2 separate regions of the Homo sapiens genome follow, and region 1 is linked to region 2. The links are contacts of gene promoters, found by promoter capture Hi-C in human tissues and cell types (Jung and others, 2019). All regions are on one chromosome and are shown on one strand. The core of a region is centred on a gene start or on the middle of the fragment in contact, and the rest is flanking DNA. Distances in the headings are between cores, read along the strand shown. Region 1 overlaps RELN (reelin). Region 2 holds the start of RELN (reelin).

Evidence for each region. Contacts are between HindIII fragments. The study calls those that stand out against the background at their distance.
Region 1: a contact is called between a fragment that was not itself captured here and the fragment with the promoter of RELN in region 2, in 3 of the 25 tissues and cell types used here (H1 embryonic stem cells, IMR-90 fibroblasts and lymphoblastoid cells).

Annotation. Positions count from the first base shown.
Region 1 is chr7:103,499,975-103,506,887 of GRCh38, forward strand. It overlaps RELN (reelin), which reads right to left. Exons shown (of 65, transcript NM_005045.4): 52 at 3,042-3,256; 53 at 771-948. SLC26A5-AS1 (SLC26A5 antisense RNA 1) reads left to right here. Exons shown (of 4, transcript NR_110141.1): 3 at 4,430-4,550. Among named protein-coding and RNA genes, the nearest start is that of SLC26A5, 57 kb to the left of the region's middle. The HindIII fragment of the contact is 5,472 bases long and covers 1-4,217 here.
Region 2 is chr7:103,985,089-103,992,174 of GRCh38, forward strand. RELN (reelin) reads right to left here and starts at 4,570. Exons shown (of 65, transcript NM_005045.4): 1 at 4,043-4,570. The coding sequence starts at 4,268. The HindIII fragment of the contact is 8,012 bases long and covers 2,259-7,086 here.

The DNA of each region.
Region 1 (6,913 bases), core at 232-2,731, 490 kb before region 2:
TAAAAAATGTTCAATTCCATAGTTGAAGTATTAGAACAAACACAAATGACAGAACAGGTTTGATTTACATTGTTGACTCTCATATGTTGGATTTCAATCACTAGGAATTTTGCTTTTTTTAGCCTAGTCATTTTTCTGTTATTGTAATGACAAATGCACTATGTTTATTCACAGAAATAGAGTGCATATGTGGCAACTGTGTTGGGTAACTGTATTTGCTTTGCATATTAAATAATGATGTAACAGCTAAAGCTTTCAAAAGTGACCTCTCCATTCTTAATACACAACCCCATTTCAGCAGTCAACGAATCAGAACACAGAATTTTCTAAACAAAAATTCAGGTACTGTTTAGGCCTTTTTGAAAATTTGGTCTTTTGTGATAATGTATATTATTTGCTTTATTTCATAACAATAATAACAATAATATCTTCCTTCAAATAGTGCATCAATTGAAAAAGTGAAGTAAAAAAGGCTTAATATTGACTTTAAAAATAGTCTGCTTAAGAAAAAAAAAAGAAACCCAGAGTATTTATCATTTGTAATCCATATAGTCTGGCTCATTTTATGAACTGGATAAACTGTACTAGAACTTGATCCTAATATTCTTGTACTTAGGAAACATAAGACATTTTTAAAGTTTCTATTCAAAGGATTTTCTTTCCTGGGGGACCCAAAGGACATTGTTATAGATTATGTCTCATACATAAGTTGGTTCCTAGGCATGACCCATGATGTGAGTAATGCGTCTTGTCCAGGGCTTTACCCTTACCTTCAGAGTGTGGGTCAAGTAGCAGTTTGGCCCTGAGTATCCCGGATCACAGATGCACTGTTCCCTTAAGCAATCTCCATGGCCCCTGCAGTTGTCCAAGCATCCAGGGCCCAGGTAGAAATTATCGATTGCCCACTGCATGTCTGAGTACTTCTGATAGAACCTAAACCTTACCGGACTATTGACAATGCAAAAGCAAAGGAGTGAAAAACAAAAGTTAACTGTATTTAGGTCCATTGTCCTGCATGTGTATTCAGTACTCAAGAGAAAAAACATTTAAGATACTCTTACTAGATGAAATAGGTTAATAAAAAATGTTTTCTGACCACTCTTATCTTTCTAGTAATGGAACTTTCAAGCTGGTTTTATTGAAATTTCAGAATATCTGAGCACACTTGCACAACAAAATTAAATCAGTGGAATCTCTGTGTCAAGAAATAAATAGAAATATTTAAATACACAAATCTGTAACTTTCATAAATCAGGTTTCTTCTGAATTGGAGTTCCGTGGTCATGATGCAATTTAGATTCACTAATTGCATTTCTGAAATTGTACAGAAGGTGAGTGACGCCTTTGACAAGAGCCTTGTCAGCATACACACAGCCCTCAGGCGGTCGGGAGGCAGCATTTTCTGAATTCCCTGAAGACAATCAATATTCTCAGAGTAACTATGCTAATTAGAAAACAATTTTGAAAGGGTTATATTAAAGGACATTTTCTTTGAGATTTTAATTTCATCTTTGTTCTTCTCTGTCTTCTGGGGGAAAAAACAAGCCTCATAATTATCCTTATATTAAAATATGCCATACTATTTTGGTTTAAAGAATCCAAAGTACATGAAGGAACTTTCTGGGGTGATATAAATGTTCTGTATCTTGTTTTATGTGGTGGTTACATGGGTTACACAACTAAAAACTCATTGATCTGAACAATTAAGATGTATGTATTTTACTGAATGTAAATTATACCTCATTATTACAAAAAGAGAATGGGAGGAGAAAATGAGTCTGTGATAGACATCATGGTGGGTCCCCAGCATCCATTTCACCCCAGATAATCCATGAAATAATCATTTCCTAACTCAACTATTGAGTGGCTAATTGGTACCAGTGGGATGCAAGGTGGCGCTTGTTCTGGCTGTCTTGGAACAAAAGCAACTATCTTTCTTTCTCACTGGACGTAAGTACGGAAGCATCCTGCCCCAGTTCTCTGGCTGCCATCTCATGTTCAATAGCAAAACCAGCCTGAGAGAGCTGAGTATGCCGCCAGTGCCGTGGACAGCAGATATTCTCTTAAGAGGATAAGGAGGAACGCTGTCCCTGAAGACACCGTTCAACTTACAAATCAACCAGCCCTAGAGTTCACTTATCTTTGGATTCGTTCATTATAGATATAACAAATTTCGAGCTGGTTTGAATTGGGTTTTCTGTTCCTTGCAGCTGAAAGCATCCTGATTTAATTCCTTAGTATGTTAATTGAATAAGCTCTTTAGATACATTCCAGAAAACCCTGAGTGGTAATAATAATAATAATAATATCTATGGGACACTGGGAACTGTGCGTAAGCACTTTATTCAAAGACTCTTTATGTTTCACAAGATTTGTTTAGTCAGACTATCTGATTAATACAGTCTAGGTGCACCTGTTATTTTCTTTTGTGTATCTTTACTTTTAAAGTAGAAGAGAAATCTTTTGGAATTGCCTTAAATTAATATATCCACAGACTTTGCAGAGCAAGGTTTAATCACCTCTGCTCATCACTGGTCCAGGCTAATTACCTCTCACTGCAGGATCAGAATACAATGCTTTGATAAGAGAAAAATGGATCCCATAAGTCACAGTGGTAGAAATAGCATGATGAGTTAGGATTTGCTCCTGGCTCTGTCTATCATGGATTGATAAGGCAATAATGTGGAAAGTATATAGTGCACAGAGGTCCACAGTCTACAAGGTTGAGAAGGTAGGGTACACCTTTTCATCTGGCTCCAAGGCCATCACTATTGCTCTGTTCCCATTTTAAGATACTGAGGTTTAGAAAATAAGAGTCTGCAAAAGCCCATATTGCCAAGTCTGAGGATTACAAATTGAGGTCTGAAGTTAGCTCATCATGGAAGTTATGATGAAAGTAACCAATTAGAGAACCTTTAGAGTTAGGGAGAAAGAAAGCACTTTACCCACAAATACACATAATTTCAGGCATGACAACAGTGTACCTAATGGTGTACCTTCTGGATGCTTGGAACCAGGCTTTGTTTTAGTTTTCTACTTACTTTCCCACTAAGCTTTCAGGAAGTGGGTAGGTGATCCTTTTCCACCCTTTAGTTGGAAAGAATACAGATGGCTGAGAAACACTTCCAGAGCATTTTGGGTCAGCAGGCAAGCACTGAGGGACCAGATAATTCCAACTCACACCGAAGTCAGTAGAATACTGCACATGAATTTGATTCTGGGCAATTTTTTCAGACACCTTACATCCAACTGAGATCTAATAAACAGAAAAACAAGATCAAGGTATTAAAACTATATGATATGATTCTTCTCCAAGGACTTGGCAGCAAAAAAGCTGCTGATCACTTGATATACACTGTACCACATCCATCCTGTATTTTCAGATTCATTATTTGTTCTGCTAATGGACAGAGAAAGTCACCATGATTGCCCCAGGTGACAAATTATAGAAAGTGCCAAATATATTGTGTAGGGGGTTTGGAGAGAAACTCAGACCCCGTGCTTCTGCCATGCTGGCTGAATGCCTTGGAAGGCCTGGGCTCACTCCTACAAACTGTTAGTTGTGCTAATGGTCTGGCATTTCTATTTGGCAGAATACTTAACCAAGAAGAATAGCTAACAGCTTTACCAATTTTACTATTTTGTTGTACAATTTATGACTCTCAATACAACACTTTCAACGACAAGTAAGATGAAATAATAACTGAAGGTAGTTTAAACAAGGCACAGCACCCTTCGTTGATGGTGATAGCCATGATGTGACACTGCTGTTAATACAGTGGGATTTAGGTAGACAGAATAAATTGGTTCACATAAAATCTTGGCCTAAATATTAGCCAAAATTGATGTTGACATTAATGCTAATCATGCCTTTGTTTTCTATAAATTTTTTTCTCCAGAAACATCCAAATGTTCTTGTAAAAAAAAAAAAAAAAAAAAAAAAACTAGAGGCTGGGTGCCATGGCTCACGCCTGTAATCCCAGCACTTTGGGAGGCCGAGACGGGTGGATCACGAGGTCAGGAGTTTGAGACCAGCCTGACCAACATGGTGAAACCCTGTCTCTACTAAAAATACAAAAATTAGCTGGGCATGGTGGCGTGCACCTGTAATCCCAGCTACTCAGGAGCCTGAGGCAGGAGAATCGTCTGAACCCGGGAGGCAGAGGTTGCAGTGAACCAAGATTACGCCACTGCACTCTAGCCTGGGCAACAGAGCAAGACTCCGTCTCAGAAAAAAAGGTCTTATTTCACCTAAATTTCTAAGTTATAGTTAGTATTAATAGAGAGATGGGTAAGAGGAAAAAAAGTAGAAATAACCATTATAGCTTTAATTTTCTCTTGTTGAAACAAATTGCTTAAGTCATAATGATTTAACTCGGAGTTATAATCAGTATCCTACATTTTTATTGTTGATATTTTTATCTATCAGTATTTCATCCTGAGCAGGAACACATTTACTCTTATAAAAGTTTCAGCTTGAGAGACAGCTGGCAAGATGGCTGAATAGGAACAGCTCCAGTCTGCAGCTCCCAGCAAGATCAATGCAGAAGGTGGGTGATTTCGGCATTTCCAACTGAGGAACCCGGTTCATCTCATTGGGACTGGTTGGACAGTGGGTGCAGCCCATGGAGGGTGAGCTGAAGCAGAGTGTGGCAGAACCACAAGGGGTCGGGGGATTTCCCTTTCCTAGCCAAGGGAAGCCGTGAGCAACTGTGCTGGGAGGAACAGTGCAATCTGGCCCAGATACTGCGCTTTTCCCACAGTCTTTGCAACTGGCAGACCAGGACATTCCCTTCGGTGCCTGGCTCAGTGAGTCCCACCCCCACGGAGCCCAGCAAGGTAAGATTCACTGGCTTGAAATTCTCGCTGCCAACACAGCAGTCTGAGGTCGAACTGGGATGCTCGAGCTTGGTTTGGGGAGGGGCGTCTGCCATTACTGAGGCTTGAGTAGGCGGTTTTCCCTTCACTGTGTAAACAGAGCCACCCAGAAGTTTGAAATGGGTGGAGCCCGCCTCAGCTCAGCAAGGCCAACTGCCACTCTAGATTCCTCCTCTCTGGGCAGGGCATCTCTGAAAAAAAGGCAGCAGCCCCAGTCAGGGACTTATAGATAAAACTTCCATCTCCCTGGGATAGAGCTCCTGGGGGAAGGGGTGCTGTGGGCACAGCTTCAGCAGACTTAAACGTCCCTGCTTGACAGCTCTGAAGAGAGCAGCGGTTCTCTCAGCACAGCATTTGAGCTCTGATAAGGGACAGGCTGCCTCCTCAAGTGAAACCCTGACCCCTGTGTATCCTGATTGGGAGACACCTCCCAGTAGGGGCCGACAGACACCTCATACAGGAGAGCTCCGGCTGGCATCTGGTGGGTGCCCCTCTGGGATGAAGCTTCCAGAGGAAGGAACAGGCAGCAATCTTTGCTGTTCTGTAGCCTCTGTTGGTGATACCTAGGCAAACAGGGTCTGGAGTGGACCTCCAGCAAACTGCAGGAGACCTGCAGCAGAGGGGCCTGACTGCCAGAAGGAAAACTAACAAACAGAAAGGAATAGTATCAATACCAACAAAAAGGAGGTCCACTCATAGACCCCATCCTAAGGTCACCAACATCAAAGACCAAAGGTAGATAAATCCACGAAGATGGGGAGAAACCAGCGCAAAAAGGCTGAAAATTCCAAAAGCCAGAAAATTCCAAAAGCCAGAATGCCTCTTCTCCTCCAAAGGATCACAACTCCTCGCCAGCAAGGGAACAAAACGAGATGGAGAATGAGTTTGGCAAATTGACAGAAGTAGGCTTCAGAAGGTGGGTAATAACAAACTCCTCCAAGCTAAAGGCGCATGTTCTAACCCAATGCAAGGAAGCTATAAGAACCTTGAAAAAAGGTTAGAGGGACTGCTAACTAGAATAACCAGTTTAGAGAAGAATATAAATGACCTGATGGAGCTGAAAAACACAGCACGAGAACTTCGTGAAGCATACACAAGTATCAATAGCCGAATCGATCAAGTGGAGGAAAGAATATCAGAGAATGAAGATCAAATCAATGAAATAAAGTGGGAAGACAACATTAGAGAAAAAAGAGTGAAAAGAAACAAAGCCTCCAAGAAATATGGGACTACGTGAAAAGACCAAATCTATGTTTCATCAGTGTATCTGAAAGTGATGGGGAGAATGGAACCAAGTTGGAAAACACTCTTCAGGATATTATCCAGGAGAACTTCCCCAACCTAGCAAGGCAGGCCAACATTCAAATTCAGGAAATACAGAGAACGCCACAAAGATACATAATCGTCAGATTCACCAAGGTTGAAATGAAGGAAAAAATGTTAAGGGCAGCAAGAGAGAAAGGTCGGGTTACCCACAAAGGGAAGCCCATCAGACTAACAGCAGATCTCCCTGCAGAAACCCTACAAGCCAGAAGAGAGTGGAAGCCAATATTCAACATTCTTAAAGAAAAGAGTTTTCAATCCAGAATTTCATATCCAGCCAAACTAAGCTTCATAAGCGAAGGATAAATAAAATCCTTTACAGACAAGCAAATGCTGAGAGATTTTTGTCACCACCAGGCCTGCCTTACAGGAGCTCCTGAAGGAAGCACTAAACATGGAAAGGAACAACCAGTACCAGCCACTGCAAAAACATACCAAATTGTAAAGACCATTGATGCTTTGGATAAACTGCATAACTAATGGGCAAAATAACCAGCTAGCATCATAATGACAGGATCAAATTCACACATAACAATATTAACCTTAAATGTAAATGGGCTAAATGCCCCAATTAAAAGACACAGACTAGCAAACTGGATAAAGAGTCAAGACCCATCTCATGTGCAAAGACATACATAGGCTCAAAATAAAGGGATGGAGGAATATTTATCAAGCAAACGGAAAGCACAAAAAAGCAGGGGCTGCAATCCTA
Region 2 (7,086 bases), core at 3,320-5,819:
TTTTAAGTAAATGTTTAGTTTTAGGAATAGAACATTGATTTTCCTGTCTGTCTCACAGTATAATTTTTTTTTAAAGTGGGAGTAGATATACAGCATGAAAAAATTACCAATAGTGATGCCGGACTTACAAAATACAGTAAAATCCCCCTTTTAAAACATCATGCCACATCACCAATTCAATTCTACTCAAGGCCAAATTTTTTTCTCTCAGTTGATATTTTAGAGCATACTTCTCATTGTTAATGGAACACTTCCCCCATCTTATGCTACCATAGTAACAGAAATTCTAGTCCATTCAGAAATTTAGGTACATTGTCTCACCAAAGCTCAAGTATTTTGGGTAGACTCATTTACTTAACGCTTGTCTTTCATGCACAATGTCTTCTTCTAATGGCTGACCTCTCCTTTTTGATGGGGACTGAATAAAGCCAACCTTGTGAGGGGCAGTTCCTTACTGACATGATTTCAGGGGCATCCAAGTCTTTCTATCCCCATATCTATTATCTGGCTGTTCAGTGATGCTAAACTTACTTTAAGCAAAGAGGGGAAAGACATCTTTCTACAATTACAATAAAAAATGTGGGAAAGTTTAACACTGACAAGTCACATTCACCATAAATTGATTGGGGGCAAGGCGAGGAGTGGCAAACAAAATGGATGGTAGATACCTGATGGCTGGGGGTGAGGAAAAGGAACGACCATGGGTGAGGAAAGGTGCAGACTTCAATCCAACCATCACACTTTTCACAATACTGCCTTTGTCCCTAGGAGAAGGTGTGCTGATTACGGGGCATGGCTGGAAAACAGAAATGGCTACCTGACTAAACCATGTAGGTTCTTGTTTCCTATTTCCCCATCATTTGCAACTTTCTACCACACAAAACAAAACAAAACAAAAAATTCCAGGTTTGGTGCCCGAAACGCACATTGCGGAAACTGACCATGTCTTAGGATTTGTGCAAAAAAAAAGGAAATTCTAGGAAAAAAAAAATGTTCTGACCCTGAGACCTTTCTAATTCAACATGATGTATAGAGACCTCCTTTCGCTGAGCTTCTACATTGTGGTATACTCATGGTTCATTGTGACTAATAATGCCCTTTCAAAAGAGTCAGAGATAACATAATTTAAAAGATATATGAAGATGAGAAAGAGATACCAAATGACATTTAATTGAGAGATGAGAACACACCAGATGTAACCATGCACTATTTATAGAGTTGCCAGTACTGAAAATAGATGGATATACTACTTAATGTAAAAATCTGTGACAATTCTGTTAGACTCGAAAGCTCCAGATTTTTTAGTACTATATATTTTTTATTTTTGTTAAAGATATTCCATAGATATATTTAAATACGACACATACAGGGACCTATAATTGTGAACCACTTTTATTCTAGACTGGCAATTGCTGCCCCATTTTACATTCTGAGCTCTGCCACACACCCCAGTGTCAGAGGGCAGCTGACTGATCTACAGAAATGTTCTATGTTAGGTGCTATTGTGCACACCACCTCTATCTCAATGCATTCTTTTAGGTAAAAAAAAAAAAAAAAAAAAAAAGTCACAACTATCAGCTCTACACCTAAACATGGTTCATTCAAATGGTGACTTCAATGTAAATCATAAATGTGACTGATTTTTTCTGATATAACTGTTACACTTTAAAGATCCAGAAGGTTAGAAATAAAGTCTCAAGCTAACATTTTACACATTTCTTGTAAGTTTAAGAAGACTTCTTGGGCAAAAGACCTTTCATTTTGGTCACATATCAAAATGGGCCAACCACAAAAGTACATGAGATTAAGTTTTCCTATTGGCAGTTCAATTCTAACAGAAGCTGTGTGTGTGTGTGTGTGTGTGTGTGTGTGTGTGTGTGTGTGTCTGAATTTTTTAAATTAATTTTCAAAAGCCTAAAAGGAAAAGAGACATACATAAGCATCACTTCATTTTTAAACATGTATTCTACCTGTAGAACATTTTACAAAAAAAAAAAAAAAAACTCTTACTTTAAGGCCTATAGCTACAGCTAGTTCCAAAATCTAAATGTTTAATAAAATAGATAACAGAAATTTAAAATCTGACACAATTCTCAAAGCTTATAATAATTTGACCTTTCATAACTTACATAATACAATTTCTCTACCTTTTCTGGTGGTGGAAAAGAGGTGGAAATTGAGATTCTCCTCCGCAATGTCCAACTTGAAGTATTTACACTTTATTTCTACTCTATGTTATCCATTCCTTTTCAGACTTAGATATGTGATTATGGTGAGTCTTAAGGTGACTTGCATTTGCTATTCAAGGGTGCAAGGGAGCAAAACCAAAGGGTGTATGATATTTTGGTGTTTTTAGTTAAGTTTTCAATATCGAGACCTTCCAAAGGATGTGGAAAACAGAAAAAATAATAATAAAGCTTTGTATCATCACATGGTCTTCCATCATAACCTGACAGTCACGCCTTTGAGACCAGCCTCACTCACTTACCCACCGTTCTCACTGAGAGATCATACCGGGCAAGAACTTTTGCTAAGAGTCGCACGGAGCAGCAGGCTGTCAATCAGGCTTTGGGTTAGGTCTGGTTGCCATCACAGTAGCTGCTCCTTCCACTTAAAGATTCTCATTATCTCAGAAAAGCACTAGATTGTTCTTGGGAAGAGGGCGTAGTAAGCACTTTTATCTAAAAAGGGACTAGTTACAGAACATTAATTTTCCAAAATTATTTCTAAAATTCCACCAAATTAAACTTCTGCTTTACAGACAAGGCTGCCACCATGCCACAAGGAAGTTGTAAAAGCACTGTTTAAAACCTCTAGGAGACGTTTATTTAGGCTAAATATTTTATAATAGATATCAAGGTTTTTTTAAAAACAGAAAAATCTTAAGGATTCTTACAATTTTTAAATGCTTGTCTATCTTAAGTGCTAGCACCCCGTAGATTATCTCCCGCCATGCCAATGATTGTTAGCCTATTAGAGATAGAAACTATTAACAGGAGCCTACTGGACAATGGTTTCTATTTGGTTGGGTATAAATATTTTGGGGTTGAAATTCTAATTAAATAGTGCCTGTCGCTGCTTAAAAGCTCTATAGGCATGAAATGTTCAGAAGTCCCAGAAGAAATACAGAAAAGAGACATTTTTTATTTTTCCACATACTCGATGTACTAGCTTAAAATACATGTACTACATAATATTATATTTCTTGGAGCTAAATTTTATTTCTTCTGTAATGTTTATTTTTGATGCAGGGCTGCATAATGATTCCATTTTTAAGATACCTCTAAATTATAAGGGATTCCAGCCTCTACCTGGAAATTAAAGCTGTGCAGATAAAATACAAAGTCATTAATAAACATCACAAAGATAATTCTAACAAGAAGCACCATGTAAAAGTAAGGCAGGAATCAGAAAAATCATCAATTACTGACATATTAAATCACACTTTCAAAAGAATAGGGAGCTGGAAGCAGCCGCTCCCTTTCAGGAGGGCTGTATGACACTGAATGAAATGCCAGGGACTCCTGGCTGGTGAGCAGCGGGAACTTTGCGGTCGAGCGGCGCGGGGCAGCCACAGACCTGGGCGCTTCAATCTGTCACCAGCCTGCCCGCAAAGCCCAGCGACAGCCCCCAACGCCCCCCCGGGGACCCATCTGGGGGGACCGGGAGCAGGACAAAGGTCTGAAATCCAAGTCCTAGGAGTAAAGAAACAAAATGCGCAGGTTCAATTTAAAGTGCCTGCGGTAAGTACGGGGAGTGAGGGGGAAAGACACCGGCCTCCAAGAATTCTCAGGCGTTTAGCACAAGCACCAGCTCATTACCAGGAGATGCGTTCGGGGAGTGGGGACATGGAGAATGAATCCCAACTTGTGACTCCATTCTCCACTAACTTTATTCTCGCTCCCTGGACCAAGCGCATCGCTGGGGCCAGGGTTGTCATGGTTCTTGTTTCCAAGGCCCCTTGGAAGAAGGAAAGGGATGAGAAAGGTGCGCTGGCGGGCGCACCCGGCGGCGGCGAGCGCGGAGGTGCTGCGGTACCTACCATGGTATTCTTGTCCCGGAACGTAGTAGGTGGGGTTGCCCGCAATATGCAGGGAAATGAGCACCTCGCCCTGCTCCCCATCCCCTTCCAGCTCCCCGTGGTGGGTGCACAGGAAAAAGAAGGGCGAAAAGCGGGGGTAATAGCCAGCCGCCGCGCGCGCCCTCAGCGTCGCCCCCAGCAACAGCGCTAGGAGGAAAGTCTGCCGGGCCCAGCCACTGCGCTCCATGCCGCCGCCGCCGCCGCCGCCGCCGCGCGCCCTACGCGCCGCTCGCTCATTCAGTTTTGGAGACGCCGGGACGGAGGAGCCACGCGGAGAGAAGGCGAGAAGAAGGCGGACGGGAGCGGAACGGGCTCGGGAGCGGGCCTGGGAGCGGGCCCCCGCCGAGAAGTTCCGCGGGAGACGGCGGCTCCCAAAGTTACTTTGGGCCGCGGGAGCGCGGGACCGGGGCTGCGGGCGCCGAGAGCGCGTCGTCTGCCGCCTCCGTGCGCCGCCGCCGCCTCTGCGCGACGCCCCTCGGCCAGGCCTGGGAAAGCGCCCGCCCCGCTCCACACCTTCTTAAAGCCCCGGGCGCCGCGTCCCCCCCGCCGCCGCCACACGTGTCCCGGCCGCTCCCCCGCCCCCGCGCGCCGCCCCGCCCGCCCCCCGCCCTCTCGGGCTGGCTCGGCGGCACCTCGCGCGGCGAGGGGCGCACGCGTCCCCGGAGTCCCCGGCCAGCGCCCGGTTCGCACCCGGGAGGACAGGGAGGGGCGCCCGCCGGGGAGCGGGACGGGGACGCTGTCGAGGACCGCTGAGCCCGCGACTCTTCTGCGAGGGACGTCAAAGCCCCGCAGAGGGCACCTCCCGTCCAGCTGTCTGAAGGGGAAGGCCAGCCCCTTTGGCCGTCAGTGTGCCCTGTTTTTCCTGGGAGGATGCGTGAGGGAAGGAGAGGGGCGGCAGGGACGGCCGCTGGCGCCGGTTTCTTTGTCTGAGCCGGCTGCGTCCCGCGCCCCTCGGGGCTCGCAGTCTGCCAGTCCGGGCGGCCCGCACTCGTTCTGGGAATCCGCCCGAGGCCGCGAACCGCTAGGGGCCCTCGCGCTCCCTTCCCACCCAGGCCCCCTGTCCCTCCCGCCGCGGCCGCCCGGCCCCTCGCGGCAGCGACAGAGCCTCATCTGTAGAGGATTTTAAAATGAGATTAAGCGAAAGTGGAATTGGCAGACTCGAGTGGTGCCTGGAAATGGTGATTTGTGCTGCTCGGTTGTGGGGAATTGTAAGGCAGGAAGGGCTGGCGGAGCTAAGATCCGACAGGCTCTCTTCGCCGGACTGTTCTGTTATTCATTGCTTCTGGGCTCTTCAGGCAGAGATGGGTGTTGTAATTTTTTAAATCAGTGTTTATTTCCTTTAAATGTCGGTTATGACCAATGGCCCTGAAATCGGGGGAGGGAAAAACGTTCAGGGGAGATGCTGGCAGCGGTGATTGAAGCGGGTGGTAATGAGCGGCTGCACATGAACTGCAGGGAAGTGAAATAATCCATAAGCACGTTTTTAACCGAGGACGGCTGGCAGGAGCCCTGCGGCATCCGGAGATGGGGGAGCGGGGTTGCCAGGTTTTAATGCCTCTCCCCACCCACCCTTGGCTTGCCACCAAGCCAGATAAACCCGCACGTACAGAAATGAGTAGATTATAAAATTGGAAGGGATAGTGCCTTTGCCTGCATTTGTGGGGCGAGGGGCGGTGAAAATCAGGGTCCAAGGGGAGACCTCTGTAATCACTTCGTTGCAAAAGGAAGAAATTGTTTTTCTTCCTCTTACTGAGACCGAATGACAGGTAGAAAGGGCCCATTTCTAGCTGGCTTCTTGTTTCCCTTACTTCAAAATCCCCAGAGGCTTAACTGCCATATAAATAATATACAGTGTATACATATATGTATGTGCATATATATATATATGATGTGGTAACAATTGCTACACTGTAGCTCTGCGGGGTGCAGGCTGTGGGGCTAGACGTACTTTAGCTTTTTAATCCTAACACCAACTGGAGAGGCAAAAAATATCCCTATTTCACAAGGGAGGAGGCACTCAGAAATGTTGATAACTTGCCCAAAGTCAGTGACAAAGGCTGGATGCAGGGCAGACTGGCTGGCCTCAGAGGCTCTTGTCCTGCACTGCCCTGCCACAGTCGACAGCCCTAGCTGGAGCAGGTGGTGTTGCCCCAAACAGAATTAGGAGATACTCGCCCACAGCTAACAAGGCTGTTACTGCCTTCCTGTCCAGTCATGTGAATATAGCCAAAGACAAAATTAATCACTTGTAGAAAGAATCCAAAACTATTTAATGTTTTTGGCTTACACTTTTAAAATGTTTAGTTACTATGCACTGAGCACCGTCCTAAGTACTATACATACTAACTCCCTTATTCCTCATAACAATACTGTGGGAAAAGTACCATTGATAGCTTCATTTTACTATGATGAAACAGCACAGGGAGGTTAAGTAACTTGTCCAAGGTCACACAGCTAGTGAGTGCTGTGACTTGAACCCAGGCAGTCTGATTTTGACACACTAACCACTGCAAATCGCCTCTAAAGAATGCATGTTGGTGTTGTTAGAGGGATGGGGGAATAATTATTCTTCATCCAGTGTCAGAATACCTCATTTAATCCTTATATTAGCCTGCAAAGTAGGTATAATTATCTTCATTTTTAAAGAGAAGAAAGTTGAGATTCATAGAAGTTAAAGGAGCTTGGGATCAAGTCTGGCCATGCTTGATGCCAAGGTCGCTGCTTAAATAAACTGTCTTTAGTAAGCGCTGACACTTGGTCCAGGACATGATTGGAATTTAATTCATATAAGGTCCTCAATTCCCAGGAAGTCCCCTTCTTTCCATTGTGTAGTGCACTCTCAGAGAAATATTCTTTCTCGTATCTCTCGACATGGCTTTCTTAACATTCAATTTATGTGACCAAGTTTATTTTTCAATCTTCCCCTTTATTGTGCTTCCTTAATTTTTACCACTTTGCTTTGCTATTACATTTGAATAACTTTTATACTGTTAGCCATGAAGCAA